Linked DNA regions of Homo sapiens: region 1 is linked to region 2. The links are contacts of gene promoters, found by promoter capture Hi-C in human tissues and cell types (Jung and others, 2019). All regions are on one chromosome and are shown on one strand. Each heading gives the region's core, a stretch centred on a gene start or on the middle of the fragment in contact. The rest is flanking DNA. Distances are from core to core; before and after follow the strand shown. Region 1 overlaps KMT2D (lysine methyltransferase 2D). Region 2 holds the start of WNT10B (Wnt family member 10B).

Region 1 (2,500 bases), core at 1-2,500, 70 kb after region 2:
TACTGTGTAGTTTGTGCTTTGAGGCTTGCCCAAGGTGGGGCCGGGCCCAAAATGGCTGTTGATCCCATGGGGTGGCGGGAGACCAGGCTGAGGGACAGGGGGCTTTAGGGAAGGCTCCCCTACTGCCTGAGGGAAAGTGAAACGCATGGGAGAGGGGGTGCCCACAAATGCACCCGTCCCAGGGGACCGGACAAAATTGGGGGGCTGCCCACTTGGGACCTTGGCATGGAGCTCACCTGCTGGCCCCGCGGGCAGGGCTGCTGGGAACCCCCCAGCCCCCAGCGAAGTGTGGGCTAGAGACCCAGCCTTAAAGGCAACTTCAGGGGGCTGGGGTCGGGGTGGCTTATGCAATGGGGCAAATGGGTCACGGGACTGAGGGCGTGAGGGTGGGCGAGAATAAGGGTCAGGGGACTGGAAGCGAGGGGTAACGGGTGATGGGCAAAAAGCTTCAGCAGACAGAGGCCGGGGTGTCAGTGGAGACTGGGAGCTGGACTGGGACTGAGGACTGGCAGGCACTCGGGAGAAAGGGTCGGAGGGCAGTGAGCGAGGGGGCAGAGCACAGCAGCTCTCAGGGGGCGGAGGTTGGGGCCGAGGAGTCAATGGGGGCTGAGCATATGGGTCAGTGTAGGAGCCAGGGCGAAAGATGTCTGGGTGACTTGGAGGAGAAGGTGCCAAAGCCTGGGCAGGGGGTGGCTCCTGGGGCCTTAGGCCCAAGCCCGGGCTCTGGGGCTCTACCTGAGATGCCCGAGGGGTCAGGGGGGCTTTGAAGACATCAGGTGTCTTTAACTCCAGGCCACCCAGGTGGGTGCCTGAGGAGGGTGAGTCAACAAAGCCCAGGTTTGGGGGCCCATAGCTAGGAGAGGATGCCCCAAGCTCTTCCTTCTTCACCTCTAGGGCCTTCCGGGACTCCCCAAAAGGTGGGGGCGAGAGCAGGGGCTCGGAAGCTTTGCCTCCCCCTACCCCAGGGCTCTCAGGCACAGCCAAGTTATCCAGCGAGGGGCAGCGGGGTTTGAGGAATGGGTCAGGTGTGGAGGGCTGGTGTCTGGGGGTGCCAGGTGGGGTAGTGTGGAATTCCCCTGGCTGGCCAGCCCCAGGACGAGATGAGGCGCCCAGCATCGGGGGCTGCGCAGGGGCCCCCGTAGGACTAGGATAGGGGGGATAGGTGGGCGGTGCCGTGGGGAAGCGGGGCTCCAGGGGATAGGCAGGGGCCAGTCCAAAGGGGTCCTGCGAAGGCACTTGGGCGGGCACCTGGGGTGGGAGCTTGAGGAAGAGCTCACCAGGCGAGTCAGGGCCAGGCACCGAGCCCGCCGGCGGCTTCAGGAACCCGTCCGCAGAGGTAGACAAGCCGGCGGGGGTAGTGGGGCTGCCAATGAAAATGGTGGGGGCAGCAGCGGGGGGCGGGCTGCCCAGTGCCCCTGGCTGCGGGGGAATGCGGAGATGTAGGGCCGGTCGGTCAGTCTTACGGGCTATGTCGCCCACCTTGGTCTGCTTGTTGATCTGGCTCTCAGCCTGCTACAGGGGGAGACCAGGCATAGGGCAGTCAGGCTGCTGCAGGCAGGCCCCATGGCCCTCCACCCTCAAGAGAGGCCACCCACTAGAGGACTGCTACACCCCAGCCCAGCCCCACTCACCTTCTGCACCTTGTTGATGCGGTGAGCTGCCCGGTTATCTTTGGCCTTTTGCTGAGGGATATGGGACACAGCCTTAGGGCCTAGTGCTTGGTCTCATGCCCCGCCCCCATACTGTAGTGTTTTCACACTCCCTACCCAGAAGCAGATCCCTTCTGGCCCAGCTGCTTTAGGAGTGGGGAGCGGAAAGAACTGAGGTAAATTACCCAAAGATCCCTCCCTCCCTCTCAGTTCCCACGCTAATCCATGCTCCTTTCTGCCTCACCAGGTAGGGGGCTTTGTCAGCTGCTGGAACCTTTCTCCAGAGCTTCATGATTTGTTTGCAACGGCTTGACCAGTCTGGAGGGCAGAGAGAGTGAGTCAGAGAAGACTTGGCAGGCGACTCCTCCACCTGCCATGTTGCCAGGCTGTCTCCCTTGCCCTCATCCCACAGGTACCTGGGTAGTCTTGCTTGAGATTAGGAAAATTAATGTTGGCATAGAGCACAGGTGAGATGGTGGACAGCTGGCCCAACTCCTCATCCTTCTCCCAGCGCTGAAGACTCCGCTGGTTATAGGAGAGTCCGTCGCCCTCACCCTCCGTGGTGGGGGTTGTGGGGGTGGAGGGCGTGGTGCCACCTGAGCCCGTCCAGGGGCTGTCGGGCTCACCGGGTTCCGGGCTAAAGAAGCCCCCGCGCTCCCTGGGGCGCAGGGGCAGAGAGTCACAGGGCGCAGGGATGCCAAGTCCCACCCCAGACAAACTGCCTAGAGCCCCAGGCCACTGCCCTGCCCCAAAAGAGGAGGGTCACTAACAAGGGAATGGGGAGGAGCAGGGGAAGTGCTGCAGGAGTCCGAGGGAGGCAAAGCATGAACTCAGATGGAGGGAAAGGACAA
Region 2 (4,690 bases), core at 1,055-3,554:
AGTGAACTCCAGTGGGAAACCAGGAGAGGCAGCCATGCCTCCCAGACCAGGCCAGCAGTGACCTGTTCTCTGCCTCTCCAGCCGTTCTTCACCTGCTCAGGTGAGCAACACCTGGAGCCCCCACAGCACAGAGGAGGGGACTGGCTCCCCAGCTTCAAAGTCATCAGGGTCTTTGTTCCCAGCTTTGGCTCCTGGGAACCCCAGCAATTAGGGGAGCAGATTTAACCCTTAAACGGTTGGGGGCGTCACCCCACCCCCGCTGAGACACTGGGGACACCAGCCTGGGCTTGTCCAGCCAAGATGGGGGGAGAGAAAATGGTGGAGGGAATAGGGGGGCGTTTGAAGCTTCCAGGACTGGGGGCATCTCTTGTTCACAGGTGCAACCCAGATTAAGCTGAGCGGAGGCAGGAAAGGGGGGCCCTAGGGTAGGAGAGCAGGGACCCAGCTGCCTCGCTGGCAGCACGCAGGTGGAAGTTAGGCGCGCAGGGGCCCAGACGAGTGGCCAGACCTGGCTCAGAGCGGCTCCGGGGGGGGCGGGGAATTCCAGGAGAGGCCCCTCCCGGAGCCGCGAAACCATCCCTTCCCGCCTCCGCGCGCCTCGCCCTGCCGCCCACCCCCTAGCCTCCGCGGCAGCGCCGACCCGCCCAGCCAGGCTCACCGCGCTTGAGGATGGCGCTGTGGTGCGGCAGGCGGCCGCCGCCCTCAAGCGCGGAGCAGTTCCAGCGCTGGTCGCGCAGCTGGTGCTGACACTCGTGGACCGCGATGTGCAGACCCTGAAGCGCGGACGCCGTCACGTCGGGGTTGCGCAGGCACAGGCCTAGCTGCCGCTTGCTCAGGCCGGACAGCGTCAAGCACACGGTGTTGGCCGTCAGCGGCGGCTCGCCAGGCAACTTCAGGCCCAGAATCTCATTGCTTAGAGCCCTGGGAACCAAGAAGGCGTCTGGGGTCTGCGGTCCAGACCCCTCCAACTCTCCCCACCCCGGGTCGGTGTTTCTATGGCCTGGGAGACAAGGGGAACTGCTCACCGACTGCACAACGCCAGGAACAGGAGACCCGCGAGGCCCGAGGGCGGAGGCCGCGGCCGGGGCTCCTCCAGCATGTCGAAGCCCGGAGGCTCCGGTGGGCAGATCGATCAGGACCTGCGGGACGGGAGACTTGATGCGGGTTCAGGAATAGGGCGGCTCGCTTGGGGAACCAAGTGACGCCCTTCTTCGGGCTCCTAACCCACCGGTGCCACCCTACTGACCCTTCTCATTCCTCCTCAAACAAAACAAGAAGAAACACCCCTTGATTCCCAGAGTCCCTGAGGCTTGGAGGTCTTAAAGAAGAAGAGTCAAGGCGTTGTCCCAGCTCAGGACTCAAGCGAGCACCCCTGGAACCTTGCCCAATCAGACACAACGCCCGGCACACAGACACACACTCACTTGCAAACTCAGACACACAGACTCACAAACACTTGCTCCACAACCTCGCCTACTGCTCCCTTTTCCAGGGCCCCACGACTAGCTTCCCCGCCCTCACAGGGCTAGGGAGAGGGATAGGGAGGAGGTTCCCCACCACCTAAGGGGGTGTCACCTCCAGGTGTCATCAAGGGCAAGTAGGCTCCATGAGAAAGGTCTAAGAATGAGTTCCCCACTCACACTGCCCCCTCCCTGAGCAGCAAGGAAAGAGGAGAGGCTCCAGGTGCAGGAAAGATGGGGAGGAGAGCCTGGCTCCCTCCTAAAAGGGACCGTGGCACAGACTGAGTCCTCTTCCCTATCCCCCACCTTGCCTAACTACAAGCTCCCCTCCTCCATAGTCGCCCGTCTGGTCCTCACCCCTTGGCTCTCACATTCATTGCATTCTAAATCTGGGGGCACTCCTTTATTCTCTGTGTCTTTATCTCTAGCAATATCTCTGGCTCTCTATGCGTCTCTGTGCTTCTGTGGGTGGATGCGTGTCTGTCTGTCTGTCTGACTACACACGTGCCTGTCTCTTCCTCGTGTGCACGTCCCTGCCCTCCCTGCTTTCCCAGGTCTAATTACCTCCAGTGGTTTGGGTGCGGGGTCCGAGACAGGCACGGTTGGGTTGCCTGGGCTTCACTAGTGCTGCTTAAACCGTGGGGAGACTGCGCTGGGTTCTGTCCCCTTGTCAGAGCCGCATTCTTCCAGGGCCGGGCCACTCCTCTTCACCGCTTCCCCAGCGCCGCCGCGGCCGCCGGGAGGAAGGGAGGGAGGAAGGGAGGGAGTGATCGAGAGAGCTAGCAAGCCGGCGAGCAAAGGACTGGGGGCTCTGGCTTTGCTCTCACCGAGCTCAGGGTGGCTCTGCCGGGCTGACGGAGCTGCAGCCCCTCCCCGAGCCTGGGGCTTCCCCACCCTACCCTCCACTCCCAGCCTTGACCAGGCGAATGCAGCCTCCCCCTCCTCCCAGCGCGCGCGCGCGCGCGCGCGCGCGCACACACACACACACACACACACACACACACACACACTCTCTCTCTCTCACACACCCTCTCCCCCGACGCCTGGGTTCAGGCTTGGCCCCACTGAAGAAGGAGGTGGCCAGAGTTCCTCTCACCTGATCTGGGGTCGCCAAGGCTGCAGGGAGGGTGTAGTAACCTTCCTAGGGAGCCAGAATGGGGCCCAGATGGCCACATCTTTCATCACTCCTCTTTGCGTCAGTTTCTCCACCAAGATCAGGGTGGCTGGAAGGTGCCTTTGACAAGATGAGGATGGAGCCAGACAGTCTTTGGGCTTCTCGGTGTGGGACAGTCACATGTGGCACCCACAGCCTGAGCGCACCCGGGGTACTCAGAGCGGGCAGGAGAAGCACACGTCTGGGCAGCTTGGTTCCCACCCTCCTCCAAGCCCTGCGCCTGCCCCTTTGGAGGGGACAGCTTTGGCCTCAGAGTTTGGCCCTAGCAGAGGTTCAAGTAGCACCAAAGATTGTCAGCCTGCCCCGATGCTTCCTTGCCTGGCAGGGATGCTTGCCAACAGAGGTATCCTACCCTTCTCGGGATTCCCCCGGTCTGCACTTTGGGTGGCCTGGATTCCTGCTCCAAGCTGTAGACTTGCTTCTTATGGGATGAGGAGGGCCTTGGGATCCAAAATTGAGCCAAGCCCAAGGGCAGCCGGGAAAGAGCCTGGTCTTGGGGTGCACAGGCAAAGGCAAACCGCCTTAGGGAGACCCAGTGGCAGCGAACGGGTTAGGCGCCACCGTGCTCCCGCCTGACTCACCCTCGAAGCTCTAACCACTGTGGGCTATTTTTGCCAGAGAGGGGCCCCAGGCTTTCCAGCCGCCCCCCGCCCCTGCCAGACCGCAGCCCAAGGCACGGCTGGCCCCACGCGCCCCAGGCACATTGACTCAGACTGCCCCCAAGCAAGCAGAGGAACAGGGATGATACCCACAACCACAGTCACCTCTTCCTTGGTGGTGGCGTTGCAGCTCTGCTGGGCAGCCAGCCTCCAGTCTGTGCTGCTGGAGGTCCTGCCCGTGCTGCAGGGGTCACTGTTGGATAGCGGGCACAGCAGTCTGAGACAGGAGATCGAGCAAACTTACATCTGTTGGGATATTTACAGATCACCTTTACGTGCCAGGCTGTGAGCAGTCTGGGGAGGTGAAAGTGCCATGGTCCCTGACACTGGACAGCCTGGACCAGACTGCTTTTCTCTGATTCCCTACCTCTGGGATGGGGAAGTGGGAGCACTAGAGTTCCTGACCCTCCTTCCCATTTAGAGGACAAGAGCCAAACCATGTGTGGTTTTGGAGGTCACCAGAATCTGCAAGCCCCATCTCATAGTTTTCATCCTTACACCTGGATTCATGATCCCCACCAGTGTCCTTATCCTTTTTCTTGCAGTCACCCTGGGATTCCTGCCAGGTCCTTGGAAGAGGGGAATGAGGTTGCCTAAGCCTCTCTTCTCCATGGGGACCTCATGGACATTTGTATTTCTCCATGTGTCTCTGGGTCCCCCTTAGGTTTGGGATTATTTTTTGCCTTCTGATTCTACCCTTGTCAGGCTCCAGCATACAGCCAGGTGCCAAGAAGGGGCGAGGGGCAGAACTACTACAATAGGTTTCAACTTCCTGGTGACCCTAGGTCTCCCCAAGCAGGACTGTTCCAAATCCAAGGACCCAGAGTCCTGCTCCTTCTCTCTACTGAAGCCCAACTCTGGGACAAGAGGCCACAGGCCGGCAGACTGGGTGGCCTGAGCTGGCCCGCAGTGCCCTCAGCCCGACCGGCTGGCCTGAGCACTGACCCGCAGGCGGCTAGAGGGCGGTGGGACAGGCGGGGCCTGGAGAGGGCTGTGGGTGCACACCCATTGCCTAATACCCCAAGCACGCGGCCAGCTCCAAGAAAGGGGAGGGACGGGAACCAGAGAGACCTTGACGTGGGTCAGGGCCAATGACAGGAGGGGGAAAGTGGGGGGCTTTCATCACTGCAGGGAGGGACTAGGAGCAAGCTGGTTCCCCTTCCCCTCAATGAGAAGAGTGGAGGGCTGCCCTTCCCATCCTAGGGATGGAGGGTGTAACGAGAGCAATGTGGGAAGAACACTGGGGCCCTGGAGGGCGGGGGTCAAAGAAAAGAGTGGGGGCCCCTGGAGATTGGGGGATGTCGAGCAACTGAGGCGGTGGCTAAAGCCTCAGAAGCCTCCTCCTCCTCCTCCCCCCATGTTTGCCTTGGCCCGGGGTCCCGGGTGACTCATCTGTT

Evidence for each region. The method cuts DNA at HindIII sites, captures the fragments that hold promoters and counts their contacts. A contact is called where the count stands out against the background at its distance.
Region 1: a fragment that was not itself captured here is called in contact with the fragment with the promoter of WNT10B in region 2 in 4 of the 25 tissues and cell types used here (H1 embryonic stem cells, bladder, lymphoblastoid cells and 1 more).

The regions. Positions count from the first base shown.
Region 1 is chr12:49,040,024-49,042,523 of GRCh38, forward strand. KMT2D (lysine methyltransferase 2D) reads right to left here. Exons shown (of 55, transcript NM_003482.4): 29 at 2,066-2,307; 30 at 1,894-1,967; 31 at 1,632-1,682; 32 at 1-1,512. Among named protein-coding and RNA genes, the nearest start is that of KMT2D, 20 kb to the right of the region's middle. The HindIII fragment of the contact is 6,740 bases long and covers 1-2,500 here.
Region 2 is chr12:48,969,431-48,974,120 of GRCh38, forward strand. It overlaps WNT10B (Wnt family member 10B), which reads right to left and starts at 2,305. Exons shown (of 5, transcript NM_003394.4): 1 at 2,025-2,305; 2 at 1,026-1,139; 3 at 659-921. The coding sequence starts at 1,099. RefSeq lists silencers at 529-608, 2,076-2,370. The HindIII fragment of the contact is 13,431 bases long and covers 1-4,690 here.